Regions from separate parts of the Homo sapiens genome. Here all the other regions are linked to region 2. The links are contacts of gene promoters, found by promoter capture Hi-C in blood cells and fetal thymus (Javierre and others, 2016). All regions are on one chromosome and are shown on one strand. Each heading gives the region's core, a stretch centred on a gene start or on the middle of the fragment in contact. The rest is flanking DNA. Distances are from core to core; before and after follow the strand shown.

Evidence for each region. Contacts are between HindIII fragments. The CHiCAGO score rates a contact against its expected background, and 5 or more counts as called.
Region 1: a fragment that was not itself captured here is called in contact with the fragment with the promoter of WDR33 in region 2 in 4 of 17 cell types (naive CD8 T cells, total CD8 T cells, total CD4 T cells and 1 more); the score reaches 6.4 in naive CD8 T cells.
Region 3: a contact is called between a fragment that was not itself captured here and the fragment with the promoter of WDR33 in region 2, in 1 of 17 cell types (fetal thymus). The highest score is 5.6, in fetal thymus.
Region 4: a contact is called between a fragment that was not itself captured here and the fragment with the promoter of WDR33 in region 2, in 3 of 17 cell types (naive B cells, activated CD4 T cells and total B cells). The highest score is 6.3, in naive B cells.
Region 5: a contact is called between a fragment that was not itself captured here and the fragment with the promoter of WDR33 in region 2, in 1 of 17 cell types (activated CD4 T cells). The highest score is 5.3, in activated CD4 T cells.
Region 6: a fragment that was not itself captured here is called in contact with the fragment with the promoter of WDR33 in region 2 in 1 of 17 cell types (total B cells); the score reaches 5.9 in total B cells.
Region 7: the fragment with the promoter of IWS1 here is called in contact with the fragment with the promoter of WDR33 in region 2 in 8 of 17 cell types (fetal thymus, non-activated CD4 T cells, naive B cells and 5 more); the score reaches 10.4 in fetal thymus.

Annotation. Positions count from the first base shown.
Region 1 is chr2:128,087,024-128,089,723 of GRCh38, reverse strand. No RefSeq gene overlaps it. Among named protein-coding and RNA genes, the nearest start is that of UGGT1, 2.8 kb to the left of the region's middle. The HindIII fragment of the contact is 4,939 bases long and covers 1-2,700 here.
Region 2 is chr2:127,809,918-127,812,617 of GRCh38, reverse strand. It overlaps WDR33 (WD repeat domain 33), which reads left to right and starts at 1,447. Exons shown (of 22, transcript NM_018383.5): 1 at 1,447-1,606. LOC124907885 (a long non-coding RNA gene) reads right to left here and starts at 1,367. Exons shown (of 2, transcript XR_007087230.1): 1 at 475-1,367; 2 at 1-106. RefSeq lists enhancers at 1,146-1,215, 1,486-1,775, 1,796-1,875, 1,956-2,035, 1,442-2,382 and 1 more. The HindIII fragment of the contact is 7,008 bases long and covers 1-2,700 here.
Region 3 is chr2:127,410,195-127,412,894 of GRCh38, reverse strand. LOC124908047 (translation initiation factor IF-2-like) reads left to right here and starts at 2,541. Exons shown (of 3, transcript XM_047446883.1): 1 at 2,541-2,599. The coding sequence starts at 2,541. RefSeq lists enhancers at 1,681-1,730, 1,871-2,070. The HindIII fragment of the contact is 627 bases long and covers 942-1,568 here.
Region 4 is chr2:127,504,423-127,507,122 of GRCh38, reverse strand. IWS1 (interacts with SUPT6H, CTD assembly factor 1) reads left to right here. Exons shown (of 14, transcript NM_017969.3): 3 at 1,371-2,439. Among named protein-coding and RNA genes, the nearest start is that of IWS1, 21 kb to the left of the region's middle. The HindIII fragment of the contact is 2,101 bases long and covers 391-2,491 here.
Region 5 is chr2:127,366,782-127,369,495 of GRCh38, reverse strand. All of the region lies in intron 1 of MAP3K2 (mitogen-activated protein kinase kinase kinase 2), which reads left to right. All of the region lies in intron 1 of LOC124906074 (a long non-coding RNA gene), which reads right to left. Among named protein-coding and RNA genes, the nearest start is that of MAP3K2-DT, 19 kb to the left of the region's middle. The HindIII fragment of the contact is 3,235 bases long and covers 1-2,714 here.
Region 6 is chr2:127,350,361-127,353,060 of GRCh38, reverse strand. The region is part of intron 1 of MAP3K2 (mitogen-activated protein kinase kinase kinase 2); the gene reads left to right. Among named protein-coding and RNA genes, the nearest start is that of MAP3K2-DT, 36 kb to the left of the region's middle. RefSeq lists an enhancer at 575-1,074. The HindIII fragment of the contact is 1,773 bases long and covers 486-2,258 here.
Region 7 is chr2:127,525,170-127,527,869 of GRCh38, reverse strand. It overlaps IWS1 (interacts with SUPT6H, CTD assembly factor 1), which reads left to right and starts at 1,381. Exons shown (of 14, transcript NM_017969.3): 1 at 1,381-1,695. The coding sequence starts at 1,662. RefSeq lists enhancers at 782-851, 1,092-1,141, 1,402-1,461, 1,992-2,051, 2,062-2,141 and 1 more and silencers at 887-1,060, 1,702-1,811. The HindIII fragment of the contact is 4,097 bases long and covers 1-1,895 here.

The DNA of each region.
Region 1 (2,700 bases), core at 45-2,544, 280 kb before region 2:
TCTGAGCAAAAACTGTATAGAATCAACATCACCCCAGCTCTGTGGGAAAAAAGAAAAACCTGCTCCCTTCGCCCTGCTGGAAGCTGGAGGGCTCTAGGCCCATGTGTAGCAGAGCATTCAATTCTAGCTTTCTTCCTGCTTTCTCTGTATATTGGGCTCGGAGAGTACACTGGGTCTCTATGTGAATATGGACAGTTAGCATTTACCAACATCTTTCTGTCTACTTTCTCTTGTTTAAAAAAAGAAAAAAACTTTAAAAAATGGGATTCTAGAAGTCAGCAAAGGGTGGGTCTGAGATGTTTGGGTGGGTTAAGCGGACATTTTGACAACATGGCTTCTCCTTTGGCATGTTTAATTGCGATGTTTGACACACATCCTTGCAGTTTAAGATGACGCTTTTAAAATAAATTCTCTCCTAATGATGACTTGAGCCCTGCCACTCAGTGGGAGAATCAGCAGAACCTCTAGGATCTTATTTGGAATTGACATTCTCTATTGTAATTTTGTTCCTGTTTATTTTTAAATTTTGTTTCACTGGAAAGGAAAGATCATGCTCAGTTTTAAATGTTAAAAGTGTACAAGTTGCTTTGTTACAATAAAACTAAATGTGTACACACACCTACGAAAAGAAAAAAACATGAGCATTTTAAAATTTATTTCACAAGGGAGCTGTTGTGTTAGCTTTCCATAGTGTATTTTCTAGCCCTCTTTAAATCACATCAGCTAATGCTTCAATAAAAAGGAAATTGTTAATTCACCTCATTACAAAGTTGATTATATACTTTTTCTTGGCCTTATCTTGATCTTCTGCTATGTGATCCATGAACAAAACCAAAGTTTGCTTAGTTTTAAAATACAGCTAAGTGGTAGCACAGAGCTTCTAGGAAAGTTGGATTTCACCTTTTCTAAACCTTTCTCTGAAAAGTGCTACCTTATTTGAATAAAAACAGATTTTAAAAAATTTTTTAAACTTTTTATTTAGAAATAATTATAAATTCACAAGAAGTTGCAAAGATAGTACACAGAGGTACTTTGTACCCTTAAGCCCATTCCCCCAATGATTACATTTCAAATATCTATATTAAAGTATGAAAACCAGAAATTGACTTGGTACATTGTGTGGGGGAGACAGGTATATTTCCATCATTTTGTGTATGTCTGTACATTTGTGTAACCACTGCCAAAATGAAGACCCACAACTATTGCAGCACCACAAAGATCTCCCTTGTGCTACCCCTTTATGAAGTCAGAACTACTTTCCTACCCCCAAAACCCCTAGCCTGTGGCAACCATCATTTTGATCATTAAATATAAAATTTTTCAATTCTAGAATGTTATATGAATAGTATCACATAGTATGTAGCTTTTTTATTTATTTATTCACTCAGCATAACCACCTGTGGAGCCATACAAGTTGTAGATATCAGTAGTTTGTTCCTTTTTATTACTGAGTAATATTCCATGGTACAAACATACAGATTCATTTTAGCATCACCTATTGAAGGATATTTGGGTTTTTTCCAGTTCTGGACTATTACAAATAAAGCTCCTATTAACATTCATGTACAGGTTTGTATTTATATTTATTTATTTATTTATTTAAAATTACAAAAATCAGCCAGGCATGGTGGTGGGCGCCTGTAATCCCAGCTACTTGGGAGGCTGAGGCAGGAGAATTGCTTGCACCCAGGAAGCAGAGGTTGCAGTGAGTAGAGATTGCGCCACTCCACTCCAGCCTGGGTGAGGAGCAAGACTCTGTCTCAAATAAAAAAAAATTATTTATTTATTTATTTATTTATTTAATAGATCAGGTCTCACCATGTTACCCAGGCTGGTCTCAAAATCTTGGGCTCAAGCAATCCTCCCCACTTGGTCTCCCAAAGTCCTGGGATTACAGTCATGAGCCACCACGCCCAGCCCTATGTAAAGGTTTTTTACATAGACACAAGTTTTTTGTTTGTTTTTGTTGGGAAGGAGTGTCGCTCACTCTGTCACCCAGGCTGGAGTGCAGTAGTGTGATCTGGCTCACTGCAACCTCTGCTTCTGGATTCAAGCAATTCTCCTGCCTCAGCCTCCTGAGTACCTGGAATTACAAGTGTGTGCCACCACACCCGGGTAATTTTTTTATTTTTAGTAGAGATGGGGTTTTGCCATGTTGGCTAGGCTGTTTTCAAACCCCTGACCTCAAGTGATCCACCTGCTTCAGCCTCCCAAAGTGTTGGGATTACAGGCATGAGCCACCATGTCTGGCCTAGACCTAAGTTTTTTTTTATCTGGGATGAATGCCCAAGAGTGCAATTACTTGATCATATGGTAAATGTACATTTTGCTTGTAAGGAAAGGCCAAACTATTTTCTAGAATGGCTGTACCATTTTACATTCCCACCACCAGTGTATGAGAGATCCATTTTCTCTGCATTCTTACCCACAATTGGTACTGCCATTATTTTTTTATTTTTGTTATTTTGATAGGCACATAGTAATTCCTCATCATGGTTTCAATTTGCATTTCCCTAGTGGCTGGTGATGATGAGCATATTTTCACATGGTCATTTGCAATCTGTGTATCCTTTTGTGGAATGCCTTGTCATGCCCTAGCTTATTCTCTAATTATTTGGTTTTCCACCATTGAGTTTTGAGGGTACTTTATATATTTTAGATACAAGTTATTTGTCAGATATGCCATTTGGAAACATTTTC
Region 2 (2,700 bases), core at 198-2,697:
GGTCATTAGTCTGAGCTACTAGGGAGGCTGAGGTGAGAGGATCACTTGAGCCCGGGAGGTTGAGGCTGCAGTGAGTTATGATCACCCTGGGTGAGAGACCTTGTCTCTAAAAAAAGAAAAAATATAGAAGTTTATAAACATTTCTGATGTTATCATAAAAACTTTAGATACTGTGTAATGTCTGCATGATAGTCTACGTATGGATGTGCCATTATTTAATCACTGTCTGCTACTGTTTCCTTTTTTTTTTGCTATCATTAATACCTCAAAGATTAGTACACAAATCTTACTCACATCTCTGAGGCTATCCTTAGAATAGATTTTTGGAAGGGGATTATGGAGTCAAAAGTAAGACTTCTTTGAGACAGGGTCTTACTCTGCTTCCAAGACTTAAGTGCACTGGCACGATCTTGGCTCACTGCGCCCTCCAACTCCTGGGCTCAAGTGATCCTCCCACCCCAGTCTCCCAAGTACCCATCACAGGAACGATCACAGGAAGGCGGTCACAGGAACGCACCCCGACGCGCAAAGATGGGATCTCGCCATGTTCCCCAGGCTGGTACGATTCCTGATTCATACTGGAGAACAACTTGCTGTGCAGTTATATTTTGAACCTCATCAAAATGGAATCATACAGCGTCCTCTTCTTTGTGCCTAAGTTAACAGTAGCTGCTATTCGTTCAGGCTGTTGCGTTTATCCGTAACTTCCTATTTCTCTGTAGAAATCCACTGTATGATACACCACAATTTAGCCACTCAACTGCTGATGGACATTTAGGTTACCAGTTTTTTACTACTACGAATAAACGTGCTATGGACATTCTTGCACATGCCTTTGGTGGACGTATGCACTCATTCCTCTTGAAGTGAAATTTCTGGGGTCACAAGGTAAGCGTACATTTAGCTTTGGCAGAAACTGCAGCGGTTTTCCAAAATGGTTGCATCGTGGGGCTGTTTTTCTATCTTGGTCGCTGGACTTTAAGCGAGGCGTAATCTAGAGGCACAACTGGCTCGGGTAAGGCGTGGAGCCTGACTGTGTGCCGGGATCTGCCAGGGCTGCCACCAGCTAGCTGCACGGGTGAACAGACTCAGCAAGGTGCCACAGTGGCTTCCCACAGATCCACTCTCGGTGGGCTCGGTCCAACGACCCGCTATGTCTGCCGTACTGGCCCCGTACAAATATACTCATTCACATACTGGAAAACGGGGTGTTTTTCAGAGCATACACGTTAGCTCACACTGTAAAAAAAAGTCAGCACTGCGAAACGCAGTCGCTTCTTTCCTCCAGGAGGTAGCGCGTCCTACTCGCTCCGGAACAAAGGAAGCGCTCTGCAGGGTCTCGCGGCTCGGCACCTCACCTAGGCACATGCGCAGATCGAACCTCACAGAGGCCCGCGGTCCAGGCGCGCGTGACGTAGCGCCGTCCCGCCAGTGCGTGATGACCCCAGAGCGTGCGTTCGGTGGCCCATAGGGGAAGATGGCGGCTGCTCCTTTGGAGGAGCGGGATTGAGAGGATCGGGGTGGGGAGACCAAACAAGAGAGACATTTCTGGCTCTGAAGGCGAACGCTTCGCTGGCCATTTAGGAGCTCTGCTCAAAGCCAGACGGTGAGTGCGGCGGCGACACGGGACTGCTCGCCTGCAGCAGGCAGCGGCACTCTCCGCCATTTTCGGGCTCGGCCGTTGCGTGCTTTGGGGGCCTGGACGGGCGCCTGGGCACAGGTTGGAGGAACTGGGAGAATCGACCTCGGGGCGGCTGTTCGAGGCAGGTTCGAGACTTATGGGAGGGGGCTGGAGGCTGGAGGCCAACCGGGAAAAGCGGCCATGGTTAGAACTAAGGCCCTGACTGGGAGCGGTGGCGACGAGAAGACGTAAGTCAGGCCACAGTTAAGACGTGAAGTTTGGAGGGAAATGCATTTTAACTGAGGTTTGGGGCGGGAGTGGAAAGAAGTGGGCCGAGTTGAAGTAGTTGGTTGAAAGGGTCAAGGGAAGTTAACGTGAAATCTGCAAAACAGCTGAAGACTTAGCCGTGATGTTATCGTGGCTTGAAATCGGTGCTTATTATAAGGATGAGGCTACAGCTTGACAGGCAAAGCCCTGCTTTTTTGGAATAGTTGTATTTCTATTTGGTTTGTGCTAGATCCCTGTTTCTGATTTTAAGTTGTCTTCTGGCAACTAAGTAGTGAGGATCTTAGCATGCCTTCTTAAAAGAAATGACAATGAATGTTTGTACTTGGTTGTAACCCTTGGGATTAGTGGCCCCTTCCGGAGTAAGGAGGAGGCGGCGGCGGCAGGTCGGTAGGGAATTCCGTAATTGGATCTATTTAAATCAAATCAGAAAAATACGGGCTACTTGTAGAAAGCCTGTCAAGAATGTTTTAAAGTAGTTTCTACACACATGATCTTAAGTTGACTGTTCAGGAACTTTGGAAGACATTAGAATATGAACAAAAAGCCTGCACTGAAAGGAACAACTCTGGGGAGCGTAGACTTTACTTTTTTAGTACACTCTGGAGAGCTAATGCATGCTATATATACATATATATGTGTATATATGTGTGTGTGTATGTATATATAGCCTGTGAATATGGTGCAGTGGTAAACCTACTTAATTCAAACCTTTTAGTGACAGTTATGCTAGTTGTACCTCTTGTGGCATTTTTCATTTCCTCGCCTTAATTGCATTTTACCCATTTTTTATT
Region 3 (2,700 bases), core at 6-2,505, 400 kb after region 2:
ATTAGCATGGTATTTCTCTACATTTATTCAGCTCTTTGTTAATTTCTCTCTCCAATGTTTAATTGTTTTCAGGTATAGGTCTTGAACATATTTTGTTAAATTTATCCCTACTTATTTCATGTTTTAAAAATGTTATTGTAAGTGGCATTTTAAAAATTTGAACTTACAATTGTTTGTTGCTAGTGTTTATAAATACAATTGACTTTTTAAATTGAGACATTATTTCTTGATTCTATAAACATGATAAGATGATCAACTATCCCATTTGTCTGGGATTGTACCATTTTTAACACTAAAAGTCCTAAAGAAGAAGCCAAAAAGTTAAAGGGAAGTAAACTCTCCCTTGGGAAGAGAAAAGTCGAGGTTTTCAGTGATTGATACAGGAGATTAGGGGAAAGGTATAAAACCCACATGGCAACCCCAGAAACAGAGGCCGAAGGCAACACTGGTTTTAGTGCCAAATGGGCACATCACCTTCCTTAGTGTCTGTTGCTGAGGACAACCACCATGATTTGTAGTACACCATAGTGGATCATCCATTATTATGTCACTCCTTGTGATGTAACTTAAGCGCGCTATAATCTTGAACGTGACCATCCACTTTGCCTGCGGATTAATTGTTGTGCTTTGTATTGAGACACTGCTAGTTTAATTTTAGCATGGTGACTACTGAGGCCATGTTTTCTTAAGCATTCAGGTGATGAAAATGAGGAAATGGTGTTGCAATATCAATGCCCGCGTGACCCAAATGGCCATGTTATTTTAACGACAGGAGGAGTGACACAGACAACTGGATGAGGGAGGTAAAGAATCAAAACAAGGGATACTGCGCAATAAGCAGAGAGAATTCGGGGTTGGGCATGGTGGAAGAAGGGACTGTAGAGACTGCCTCACAAGTCCTCAGTGAGATAGGCAAGTATGTCCACATTAACCAAAAAGCTTTTTGTCTCCACAAAAGACACCAATTGAAAATAGTGGCTGCTGAATTAGCTAGGGCAAACTACAAAAATGAATTTGTGTGATTGTGCTGCTCCTTTGATTGTTTTTTGAAACTGAGTAGGGGCACATTTCCTCATTTACAGGCTGTAACTGAAATATCACGTGGGTGAACAAAGGGAGAAATGTCGATGGCAGCTGTGTTGACCCTTTACAACATGCAGCGGATTCTGCCAGATCCCACCAACAATCATGCTTTCTACAGTAACCAAGTGCTGCATCCAATCATGGCAATGAAAAACAGTTCTCCTAACTTGTAAATACTTTGATTTGAAAAAATGGAGTTTCAAATCATCCTTTTTATTTCTATGAAGATTTTAATCCACCTGCAGAAAAAAAAAAAGAATGTTGATGCTATCTTGTCCAAATACAAACATGACTTTGCCCATCTGTCTGCCTATTTGGCAGACCGTGCAAATGTAAATTTTTGCAAATTCCATGCAGTCTATGAACGCTTTACCAAAGAAAAGTTAAAAATATTAGCCACGAAGTGTCCTGCACATTTTGTACACATCAGTAAAAAGGGGTGGAGTTTCCTTCCCTGTGATATTGATGCTTTCAAAATGAAAGCTTTTATTTACTTTTCAGTTTCCTCAAAGCATGAAAAAGCACTTAATGAGATTTTTCACATTCCAGAAATGGAAGGAGATGGCCTCCTTTGGACATGTGCCTACACGAGGGCTGTCACTGTTGCCAGGGTAAAAAGGCAGCCTGCCATACAACCATATTTTCAAAGCATGGGACAAGAAGAATGTCCTTGTCTAATTTGGAAATATATTAAGAATGAAAATAGAGAAAAAGATTATGGTTAAACAGTCAAACTGAAATTTATAAGTTCTTCCTCCAAAACTGCCTGATGATCTTTGAGGAGCCCATAAGGGCTCTGGAAAAGCATGAACTGACTGTCCCTGAGTTGTCGATGTTATAGGTAGGTACTGACAAAGCTCATATAATGAAAAATGACTCATTTTTTGGAAACGAAACCAAAATGTCACCAGAAAAGGACAGCCAATTTAAACAAGACTTTCTCACTTCTTTACTAAAACTGTAACTTATTTGGAATTCAACTTCAACTTCAACTTCACAAGTTCAAAGTATCTTTGTGCTTTAAAACTATTTTTCCTGAGAGAAACACAGACAGAGAAGGAGAGAGACAGAGAGAGGTTTAACTTACAGTGACATCCAGTGTGCTCAGAAATGTTCAAAAAGGGCCGGGTGCCATTGCTCACGCCTATAATTCCAGCACTTTGGGAGGCCGAGGTGGGTGGATCAGCTGAGGTCAGGAGTTCGAGACCAACCTGGCCAACATGGCGAACCCTGTCTCTACTAAAAATACAAAAATTAGCCAGGCGTGGTGGCACGCGCCTGTACTCCCAGCTACTTGGGAGGCTGAGGCCGGAGGATCACTTGAACCTGGGTAGTTGAGGTTGCAGTGAGCCGAGATCACGCCACTGTACTCCAGCCAGGGCGACAGAGTAAGACTCCAACTCAAAAAAAAAAAAAAAGTTCAAAAAGGATGGATATCTTAGCCATGGATATCCTACATGATAGATGCAAAAGATGACAAACTGCTGGTTTACCAAAACCAGCCTGCAGATGCAAAGTGAATGGACATCTTTGGACAGCTGGAAACGAATCCCTACAAATCTAAAACCCTGCCGTTGCTTGTAGGTACAATCCTAAGTATTCCATTCTCAAACGCTT
Region 4 (2,700 bases), core at 192-2,691, 310 kb after region 2:
ATTATTAAAGGCTCTTTGGTCCTTGAAAATTGGTCTGTGGTAGGTTCACATAGCTTAAGTCATATATCTAACAAGAAATATTTGGCTCAGTAAATTTTTAAGAGGGTATACTCAAACACGGAAATACTTTCACTTTTTAAGCTAGAATATTATTGCCATGTTATTTAAAGTTGAGCTACCAGATGGGAGAAAAAATTCACCGGATCCTAAAATACTTGTTAGTATTTTGGCATGTTTAATTTTGTATATTTTTCTCTGCATTTTAAAGCCATAGCTATAATATGCACATATCAAGTTTGTACCCCAGGGCATGTTTTCAGAGTAATTATTTCAAGTAACATTATGTGTTGGTATAGTTAGATGAATCATGTTCTCCCTAAAACTTAAGCTTTCTTGTTTCTAGGGTTACTAGACACAGGACCGTGACTACTGTAAGCCTCAATTTTGTTATCATGAGAAGTACCATTATGAGGAGTAAATGAACTAACAGGAGAGAGCCTGTTGTGGTATTGGCTCTTAGTGGGTACTTAGGAAATGTTAACTTCTCCTTTCTTTGTTTGCTTAAATTATCTTGGGAGAAGGTGCCCATATGTTATTTGACCCTTTAAATAAAATTAAATTTTATAGTTCTTTTCCCTTAAATAATCTTAACCTTATAAAACCCAAGAATGTTCCTGTGTAAAAGAACTTGGTTACATGTTTGCTTGTATTTCTTTGAAAAATAGAGTTATTTATTTTTATTTATTTATTTTTATTTTTGACAGTCTCACTCTGTCACCCAGGCTGGAGTGCGATGGTGCAATCTCAGCTCACTGCAACCTCCGCCTCCCAGGTTCAAGTGATTCTCCTGCCTCAGCCTCCCTAGTAGCTGGGATTACAGGTGTCCACCACCACGCCCAGCTAATTTTTGTATTTTTAATAGAGACAGGGTTTCACCATGTTGGCCGGGCTGGTCTCGAACTCCTGACCTCAGGTGATCCACCACCTCGGCCTCCCAAAAGGTGTGAGCCACCTTGTCCAGCCTAGAGTTATATTTTTACAAAACAGAAGTATGTATGAGAAAATTCGCCTTTTAAAAAAGAAAAAATCTAGCTCTTCACGGTCAGTTTTCTGTAGTAATCTGAGGGCATGCTTTACAAATCTGTTTTGATGAAGGCTGGTTATATTTCCCCATTTGGGGATCCAAATAAAACCATTTCACTGATTGGCTTTCTGTGGGGGTGTTTCTATATGGGTATAGGACAAGAATTCTCCATTTAGGTGCACATAATCCTGTATTTTAAAAAAATCACAGAAAAAATTTAATGTTTTATTATTAATGGTTTTTTTTTTTTTGCACTTTCCTAATTTTTTCTCACTTTATTTTTCAGAATGAAACTAGTGATCGAGAAGATGGCCTCCCCAAAGGACATCATGTGACAGACTCTGAGAACGATGAGCCCTTAAATCTTAATGCTAGTGACTCTGAAAGTGAGGAGCTTCACAGGCAAAAGGACAGCGACTCTGAATCTGAGGAACGTGCAGAGCCTCCTGCAAGCGATTCTGAAAATGAGGATGTCAATCAGCATGGGAGCGACTCTGAGAGTGAAGAGACCAGGAAATTACCTGGTAGTGACTCTGAAAATGAGGAACTTCTTAATGGGCATGCAAGTGACTCAGAAAACGAAGATGTTGGGAAGCATCCCGCCAGTGATTCTGAGATTGAGGAGCTCCAGAAGAGTCCTGCTAGTGACTCTGAAACAGAAGATGCTCTAAAACCTCAAATCAGTGACTCTGAGAGTGAGGAACCCCCAAGGCACCAAGCCAGTGACTCCGAAAATGAGGAGCCTCCCAAACCTCGAATGAGTGATTCTGAAAGTGAGGAGCTTCCTAAACCTCAGGTCAGTGATTCAGAAAGTGAGGAACCCCCAAGGCACCAGGCCAGTGACTCTGAAAATGAGGAGCTTCCCAAACCTCGTATCAGTGACTCAGAAAGTGAGGACCCTCCGAGGCACCAGGCCAGTGACTCAGAAAATGAAGAGCTTCCCAAACCCCGAATCAGTGATTCGGAAAGTGAGGATCCCCCAAGGAACCAGGCCAGTGATTCGGAAAATGAGGAGCTACCCAAACCCCGAGTCAGTGACTCTGAGAGTGAGGGGCCTCAGAAGGGGCCTGCCAGTGACTCAGAAACTGAGGATGCGTCCAGACACAAACAGAAGCCAGAGTCAGATGATGACAGCGACAGGGAGAATAAGGGAGAGGATACAGAAATGCAGAATGACTCCTTCCATTCAGACAGCCATATGGACAGAAAAAAGTTTCACAGTTCTGATAGTGAGGAGGAAGAACACAAAAAGCAAAAAATGGACAGTGATGAAGATGAAAAAGAGGGTGAGGAGGAGAAAGTAGCGAAGAGAAAAGCTGCTGTGCTTTCTGATAGTGAAGATGAAGAGAAAGCATGTAAGGAGTTACCTTGGGCTGTTTATCAATGGCTTTATTCATTGTCTAAGCTTGTAACTGTGGAACATTGTATCCTCTTGGTATGTCAGATCTGTGTTCTGTTATTCAGCTTAATATTCTAAAATATCAGTAGGACACTCATTTCCCCTGGTTATCATTAGCTAAGCTTAATAGTAAGTTTCCTTGGAGTTCTATTAGCACATATTAATCTCTGACTGCCTCAAAGTGATAAACCACATGTCAATAGGAATATAAAATACT
Region 5 (2,714 bases), core at 61-2,560, 440 kb after region 2:
TTTTTTTTTTTTTTTTTTTTTTTTTTTAGTAGAGACGGGGTTTCACCGTGTTAGCCAGGAGGGTCTCGATCTCCTGACCTCGTGATCCGCCCGCCTCGGCCTCCCAAAGTGCTGGGATTACAGGCGTGAGCCACCGCGCCCAGCCTATTATTTGCTGTTTTGTAATAATACAGTCAGTCCTCTGTATCTGCAGGTGCTGCTGCATCTGTGGATTCAACCAACCACAGATAGAAAATATTTGAGAATGGCCGAGCACGGTGGCTCATGCCTGTAATCCCAGTACTTTGGGAGGCCGAGGCGGGCAGATCACAAGGTCTGGAGTTCAAGACCAGCCTGGCCAATATGGTGAAACCCTGTCTTTACTAAAAATGCAAAAAAAAAATAGCTGGGCGTGGTGATGCGTGCCTGTAATCCCAGCTACTCCGGAGGCTGAGGCAGGGGAATCGCATGAACCAGGGAGTCGGAGGTTGCAGTGAGCCGAGATCCCGCCACTGCACTCCAACCTGGGCAACAGAGTGAGACTCTGTCCACACAAAAATAAAAAATAAAATATTTGAGAATAATAATACTAGTCACAATTCAACAAGCTGGGTGCAGTGGCAAATGCCTGTAGTGCCAGCTACTTTGGAGGCTGAGGCGGGAGGTTTGTTTAAGCCCAAGAGGTCGAGGCCAACCTGGGCAACATCACAAGACCTCATCTCAAAAAGAAAAAAAAAATACAAATTTAAAAAATAACTTATAACAACTATTTACATGGCAGTTATATTAGGTATTAAAAATAATCTAGAGATGATTTAAAGTATATGGGAGGATATGCATAGTTTATATGTAAATACTTTGCCTTTTTATTTTTATTTATTTATTTATTTATTTTTGAGATGGAGTCTCACTCTGTCTCCAGGCTGGAGTGCAGTGGCACGATCTGGGCTCACTGCAACCTCCACCTCCCTGGTTCAAGCCATTCTCCTGCCTCAGCCTCCTGAGTAGCTGGGACTACAGGCGCATGCCACCACACCCGGCTAATTTTTTGTATTTTTAGTAGAGATGGGGTTTCACCATGTTGGCCAGGATGGTTTCGAACTCCAGACCTCGTGATCTGCCCGCCTCAGCCTCCCAAAGTGCTGGGATTACAGGTGTGAGCCACCATGCCCGACCGCCTTATTTTTATTTTTTTGAGACAGTGTCTTGTTCTGTCACCCAGGCTGGAGTGCAGTGGTGTGATCTCGGCTCACTGCAGCCTCTGCCTTCTGGGTTCAAGTGATTCTTGTGCCTCAGCCTCCCAAGTACCTGGGACTACAGGGGCACACCACCACACCAGGTTAATTTTCCTATTTGTAGTAGAGACAGGGCTTCACCATGTTGGCCAGGCTGGTCTCAAACTGCTGACCTCAAGTGATCCACCCGCCTCGGCCTCCCAGAGTGCTGGGATTACAGGCGTGAGCCACCATGCCCAGCCGATACTTGCCATTTTATATGAGGGACTTGAGCATTTGCAGATTTTGTTATCTATGGGGTCCTGAGACAAGTCCCTTGTGGATACTGAGGGATGACTGTAGTTGGATGCTCCTAAGTCATATTTTATTTTAGATTTGTGACTTAGACGTGTTTAGATGTGTTTCATTATCATTATTTGAGAGTTTCTAATTACTGTAAAGTTTGACTGGCTTTGTTACATTTTAATGGTATTATGGAGGTTTTGTTTTGAGACGGAGTCTCACTCTGTCACCCAGGCTGGAGTGCAGTGGTGCGATCTTGGCTCACCACAACGTCCGCCTCCTGCATTCAAGCCATTCTCGTGCCTCAGCCTCCCGAGTAGCTGGGATTACAGGCATGTGCCACCACGCCTGGCTAATTTTTGCATTTTTAGTGGAGATAGGGTTTCACCATGTTGGCCACGCTGGTCTCAAACTCCTGACCTCAGGTAATATGCCTGCCTCAGCCTCCCAAAGTGCTGGGATTATGGTTGTGAGCCACAGTGCCCTGCCTGGAGTTTTAATCCAAAGTATTTTATTCTAATGTGATAGGGAAATGAGACCTAATGTCTCCTGATTCAGTTTAAGGAGAGATAGATCAACATTATGTTTCATATGATGGCTTTAATGTATATTCTGATTAGGCATTTTAAAGTAACCTGTTAACTCCTTTTTAAAGTTAATAATATCTTATTGTATAATATACATATGTCAGACAGTATTTACAAAACTTCTTAGTTGCTCAGATACTATAAGGAAACAAGATAAGTAGAGGGTTGCTCAGCCTTAGATTGATAAAAATCTACTTTTAGAGATGATGTGACATTAATCCAACCAGTCTGTGATCAGTACATGGCTGCATTCTTTTGACTTCACCCCCAAGCTGTTATGTCTCTTCATATATAATCTTGCCCTGTGATTTGAGAAAGGGTAGGTTAGTTATGTGTTCTGAGATCATGTAATGTATATTAATAAAAATACAAAAATTAGCCGAGTGTGGTGGTGCATGCCTGTAATCCCAGCTACTCGGGAGGCTGAGGCGGGAGATTGGCTTGAATCCGGGAGGTGGAGGTTGCAGTGAGCTGAGATTGTGCCACTGCACTCCAGCCTGGTGACAAAGCGAGACTCTGTCTCAAAAAAAAAAAAAAAAAAAAAAACCCTTGACTGTGGGACAGCTTAGTAATGAACTCCAGAATAGTAAGCATTGAGCCTTAGAAAATAACAGAGAACAGAATTATTCTC
Region 6 (2,700 bases), core at 123-2,622, 460 kb after region 2:
AGGTGGAGGTTGTAGCCAGCCGAGATCACGCCACTGCACTCCAGCCTGGGCACCATTGAGCACTGAGTGAACGAGACTCCATCTGCAATCCCGGCACCTTGGGAGGCCGAGGCTGGCGGATCACTTGAGGTTAGGAGCTGGAGACCAGCCCAGCCAACACAGCGAAACCGCGTCTCCACCAAAAAAATACGAAAACCAGTCAGGCATGGCGGCGCGCACCTGCAATCGCAGGCACTCGGCAGGCTGAGGCAGGAGAATCAGGCAGGGAGGTTGCAGTGAGCCGAGATGGCAGCAGTACAGTCCAGCTTCGGCTCGGCATCAGAGGGAGACCGTGGAAAGAGAGGGAGAGGGAGGGAGGGGGAGGAGGAGGGAGAGGGAGAGGGAAGCATGCACTCTTTTTTAACTTACTGCTTTGCCATCCTAAGCATGTGGCCAAGGATTAAAATATCTAACAACTAGTTTTATATAATTTGGAATTTGAAGCTTAGCTCTGTCTAGATTGGAGATACAGATTTGAGGGTTAGTTTATAGGTGATGTTTCTTCAAGAGACTCAATAGAATGAAAAGAGTAGTAGTGCAAGAATGAAACTTCAAATGACACTGGCATTTAATAGCCAAACAAGGAAGAAGAGATTCTGAAGCAGACTCAGGTGAGATGTGGGAAGTGGGGTGAAGAATGGAGACTCGTGAGAGTGCATTGCCATGGAAGCTGTAATGGATATTTATGTTTTTAGCCTACCGGTATTTAAACAACCTTCTCTTTTCTTTTCTTTTTTTGCAGTGGTGGGGATGGGATCATCCATTGTGTTAGTCTTGGCGGAAGTAGCAGTGTTCTGTATCTAACCTTTACTGTAGTAGAATATAACACCAAAAGTAGGGAAGTTGGCCAGGCATGGTGGCTCACGGCTGTAATCGCAGCACTTTAGGAGGCCAAGGCAGGTGGATTGCTTGTGCCCAGAAGTTCAAGACCAGACTGGGCAACATAGCAAAACCGTGTCTCTACCGAAAATACAAAAATTAGCTGGGCATGGTGGTGCGTACCTGTAGTACCAGCTACTTGGGTGGCTGAGGTGGGAGTATCACTTGAGCCCAAGAGGTCAAGGCTGCAGCGAGCCATGATTGTGCCACTGCGCTCTAGCCTGGGTGACAAAGCAAGACCCTGTCTCAAAAAAGAAAAAAAAAACACAAAAAAACAAGAAGTAGGGAAGTCTAGATTATATGAAGTAAGCCATGGCAAGGACTTTGGAATTTATTCAAAGTAGAGAAACTACCAGTACTTTCTGACAGAGAGAGAGCATTAACATTCTCTGACTTACTTTTTAAAAGGGTGATCCTTATTGTTGTATAGGAAATGAGTTATATTAGAGTTTGGAGTAAAATCAAGTTGATCAGATATGAAACTATTTCAGTAATCCATGCAAGAGAGGATTATGGCTTGGAGTAGTGAAATATATTTTTAAGGGAAAGCTAATGGGATTTGCTAATGGATTGGAATATAAGGTGAGAGCATGAGAGGGGTCAAGCCTATCTCAAAATTTTTGTTTTGAGCAACTGGAAAAATAGAGATGCTTCTTGATAAGACTGGAGAAGAATAGATTTTTTTCACTTTGTTTTTGTTTTTACAATTTTTTTCTTCTGAAATAAGTTCCAGAAGTTGCAAAACCAGTATAAAGAAATTTGTTTTGATTATTTGAGAGTAACTTGCTAACATGAGGTCCCATCACCCCACAATATTTTAGTTTGTAATTGCTATCAATAAGGATATTTTTCTACATATCCAGAATCCAACTGTCAAAATGAGGAGGTTAGCATTGATAGAACCTGTGGATTATATCATCTAATCCACAGAACCCATTCAAGTTTTGCCAGTAGTCCCAATAATGCTCATTTTAGGAAAATAATTCAATCAGGATTATAATTTGCATTTAGTTGTTGTGTCTTTTTGATGTATTTCAATCTAGAACAGCCATAACGTTTCCTTGACTTTCATGATTTCGACAGTTTTGAGGTTTACAGAGCAGTTAATTCTTAGACTATTTCTCAATTGAGATTTGTCTAATGCTTCCCTATGAATCAATTCAGGTTATCAATTTTTGGTAGCAGTATCACAGAGGTGATGTGGTATTCTTCTCAGTGTTACCTTACCAGTTGGCACTTTTTTTTAATTTTTAAAAATTGAAGTCAGGCTAGTTAGGTACATGATTTTAATTTGCCTGTTACTGATGATCTTAATTAACATGGATCACTTGACTTAAGCTTTTTTTTTTGTCTGCTGGCTTTCTACACTAGAAAGGGTACTTTTTTTTCCTTTGAAAAATGAGTGGAAATGATTATTTTTTGGAGATGGTGTGTTGAAACTAAGTAACTCATTCCTCATCACACTTTTCATCCACTAGCTTTAGCATTTGTTGATTTTTCTTGGTTGAATTATTACTTAATTATTTCTATTGATGATTGCTGAATGGTGGTCTTTCTAATTTTATTACATTCATTAGTTGACATTCTACTGTAAGAAAAAGCTTTCTCTTCCTCCCATTGTTGATTTATTTGTTTATCTTTGTTTTTATGGACTCATGGTTTTCTTCTTTCTTTTTTTTTTTTTTTTTGTTTTTGTTTTTGTTTCAGGAGATGGGATCTTGCCATGTCGCCCTGGTGGGATACAAACCCCTGGGCTGAAGTGATCCTCCTGCCTCAGTCTCC
Region 7 (2,700 bases), core at 132-2,631, 280 kb after region 2:
ATTCCCACAGCTGAAAAGAAGGAATTTGGATTCAATGCTGTTTCCACCACTTCGGAAAGGAATATCCATGAACTCTCTTGCAGGAAAATGGGAATTTCCAGAGAGAAACCACTTCTCCCCTTTCTTCTCTTCCCACGTCCTCTTCAGGAGCCTATAATTGGGCTCTGCCAGCATACTCTGACTGGCTAACGAAGGGTCAGATATCTGCAGTAGTAACAAAAGGCTCTTTTTCTACATGTCTACACCTCCTGGGGAGTCTTTGCTTAAACCTCTACTGGCCCTCCTCCGATCCAAAGGCAAGAATGTTCCCCTCTCTGTCCAAGACTAAAATGAACAAGTAAGGAAATGGATTTTACTCAGCCTATTGCAATAGGGAGAGCACTCCAGATATGATCAGTGTCTTGGCAGCGTAGTTTTGACTTTTATAGGGAGGAAGGTGGGATGATTGACAGTTGGGATTGTTTTGCAATCAGGAGAAGTTTCAGTCAGGTGAACAGGAAATGTTCTCTGTGTCTAACAAGTTGGGGGGAGGAGAGTTCTAATCTCAACTAATCACTCGATATCATCAGCGGGAATTTGGAAGGTCTGTTTGGCTTTATTAACAGGCTCAGAATAAAGGGGAAAGGTCTCTGGCCTTGTCACAGGCAAACAAGGGGGTCATCTGCACGCGTTTTATCTGAGTCACATGGAGACGGGTGGTTCTTTACAGTGTGCCGTTCCAGAAACACAAATAGATGAGGGGGTTTCTTAATCACCGCTGTTTTCCAGGAACACAGGGCTCAGGTAAAGTTCAACTTCACCTTCCTCCGGTGTTTCATCAGGGGAACCCTTCTGGAAGCAAAGACGTGTACTTCTTACTGTTGGCTAAATGGCTTCTTAACAAGGAAATTAAATCGTTGTTTAGAATGAAAGAGAGGAAGACGCCGGGAGAGGAGGCGCTGTGGATCGCGCCAGTTAGTAACGCATCACAGCTCGCGGGCGTCATACTACAAGTCCCAGTGAGCAACGCCCGCTTTCTTGCCTACTGCGGGCGGGAACCAGGCGCCTCTGGGCCTGACGGGAAAGACAGTGGTTTGGCTGAATGACGGAAAAGTCATTTGAGCAGGTCTTCATTTTTCGGAAGAGTATCTCAAAAGCTCTTCAAACAAGGCACGGACACAGAATCTAGGAAATGATAAAGAATCAATGATAACGTTATTACCACGGGGGTCAGACCAGGATCCACCCGAGGAAGGTATTTAACTAAAGCCCGAGTTCCAGCTCAATTTTCCCAGGAGTCTCCTTTCCGGCCGTGCCTGGCGTCATTGCTGTTGCGTCTTCTCATTGGCCGGTTGACGGGTTGCGGCGCCTGCGCGCTGCATTCCTTTGAGGGTCGTGGGCAGACGCCATTTTGGCCCCAGCGGTGCTTCTAGGAAGTAGAACGCCGGCTCGCATGCCTGCCCGCCCGCCAGCCTGCCGGGTACGGCCTTTTCCGCCGGGGCTTCCAGGTCAAAGAATTCGCCTTTGCCGCTACCGCTTTCTTACCCTCCGCACCCGTTAAGTTCTCCGGTCGGGCGGCAGTCTCTGAACACTTAGCCGCGCCATCCGGGGTCACACCGCCTGGAAGGAGGTGACGGGGGCGGCGCGGGGCGCGGACACTCCCCGCTGAGAGTCCGCCTGCCATGGACTCGGAATATTACAGCGGCGACCAGTCAGGTGGGGCAGGGACCTGGGGGACCGGGCTGGGAGGCGGAGCAGTTACTCGGCGGGGCTTGGCCTGGCACCCCGCGGGTGGGGGCAAGGAGGCCCCCCGAAACCTTCCCTCCCGCGACCCGGCCCGAGGAGGGCAAGAGCCCTCTGACCAGCTGCAAGCGTCGAAGCTAGAACGTTGGAGAGGGGATTCTGGTGGGAAAGCTTTCTTCTGAATCGGCGAAGGTTTTTGCTGAAATTGGGAAGTCACTTTCATATGTTAAGCTCCTATTGTGTGCAGGGAAGGAGAGGTGTCTTCTGTTAAGAGAGTTTTCAGTAGTTGAGTAGTTGGAGAATCCAAGGGGCGTTGGGGCGGGGGATCCTTCCTAGACTTTTCACTGCTAGTTAGGAGTGGTTTAATCTTGCTTGCAACACCGGACGTAAGTGCAGGACCCATGTTTCAGTTGCATGCATAGAGTAAGGAATGCGCTTCTGGCACTTACTGGTGGTTTTTGTGCCTTTCCTCCACCTTGAGATCGTTCCTCTTCCTCCTCACCGAAGTTTGGTCTCCTTTCTTTACTGTTTGTTTATTCTGTAAGCTGTTACTGGGGCCCACTCTGCTGGCACGGTGCTTGGCACCTGAGATTAAGGATAAGTGAGGCAGAACCTGGTGTGGGAAACACGTCGCATTTGCTTTCCCTTTGTGTGCTAGTCCTGTTGGGGCGTTCTGTTACAAAAGTTCTTAAATACACCATAAATAAATACACCCTCTATGTACCCACAAAAATTGAAAATTAAAAAGAAAACTTGAGTGCTTAAATAATTGTTTAAGCGTTAAGCCCTTTACTGTTTTGAGTTCATTGCTTTTCCTTACGTAGGACAGTGAATTCTAATGACTGCAAAGCGTTTTCCAGGCATGCACTGCTTAAAAACACTTTCCTAAGCCAGGTGCGGTGGATTATGCCTGTAATCCCAGCACTTTGGGAGGCGTAGGCGGCCGATGGCTTGAGCCCAGGAGTTCGAGACCAGCCT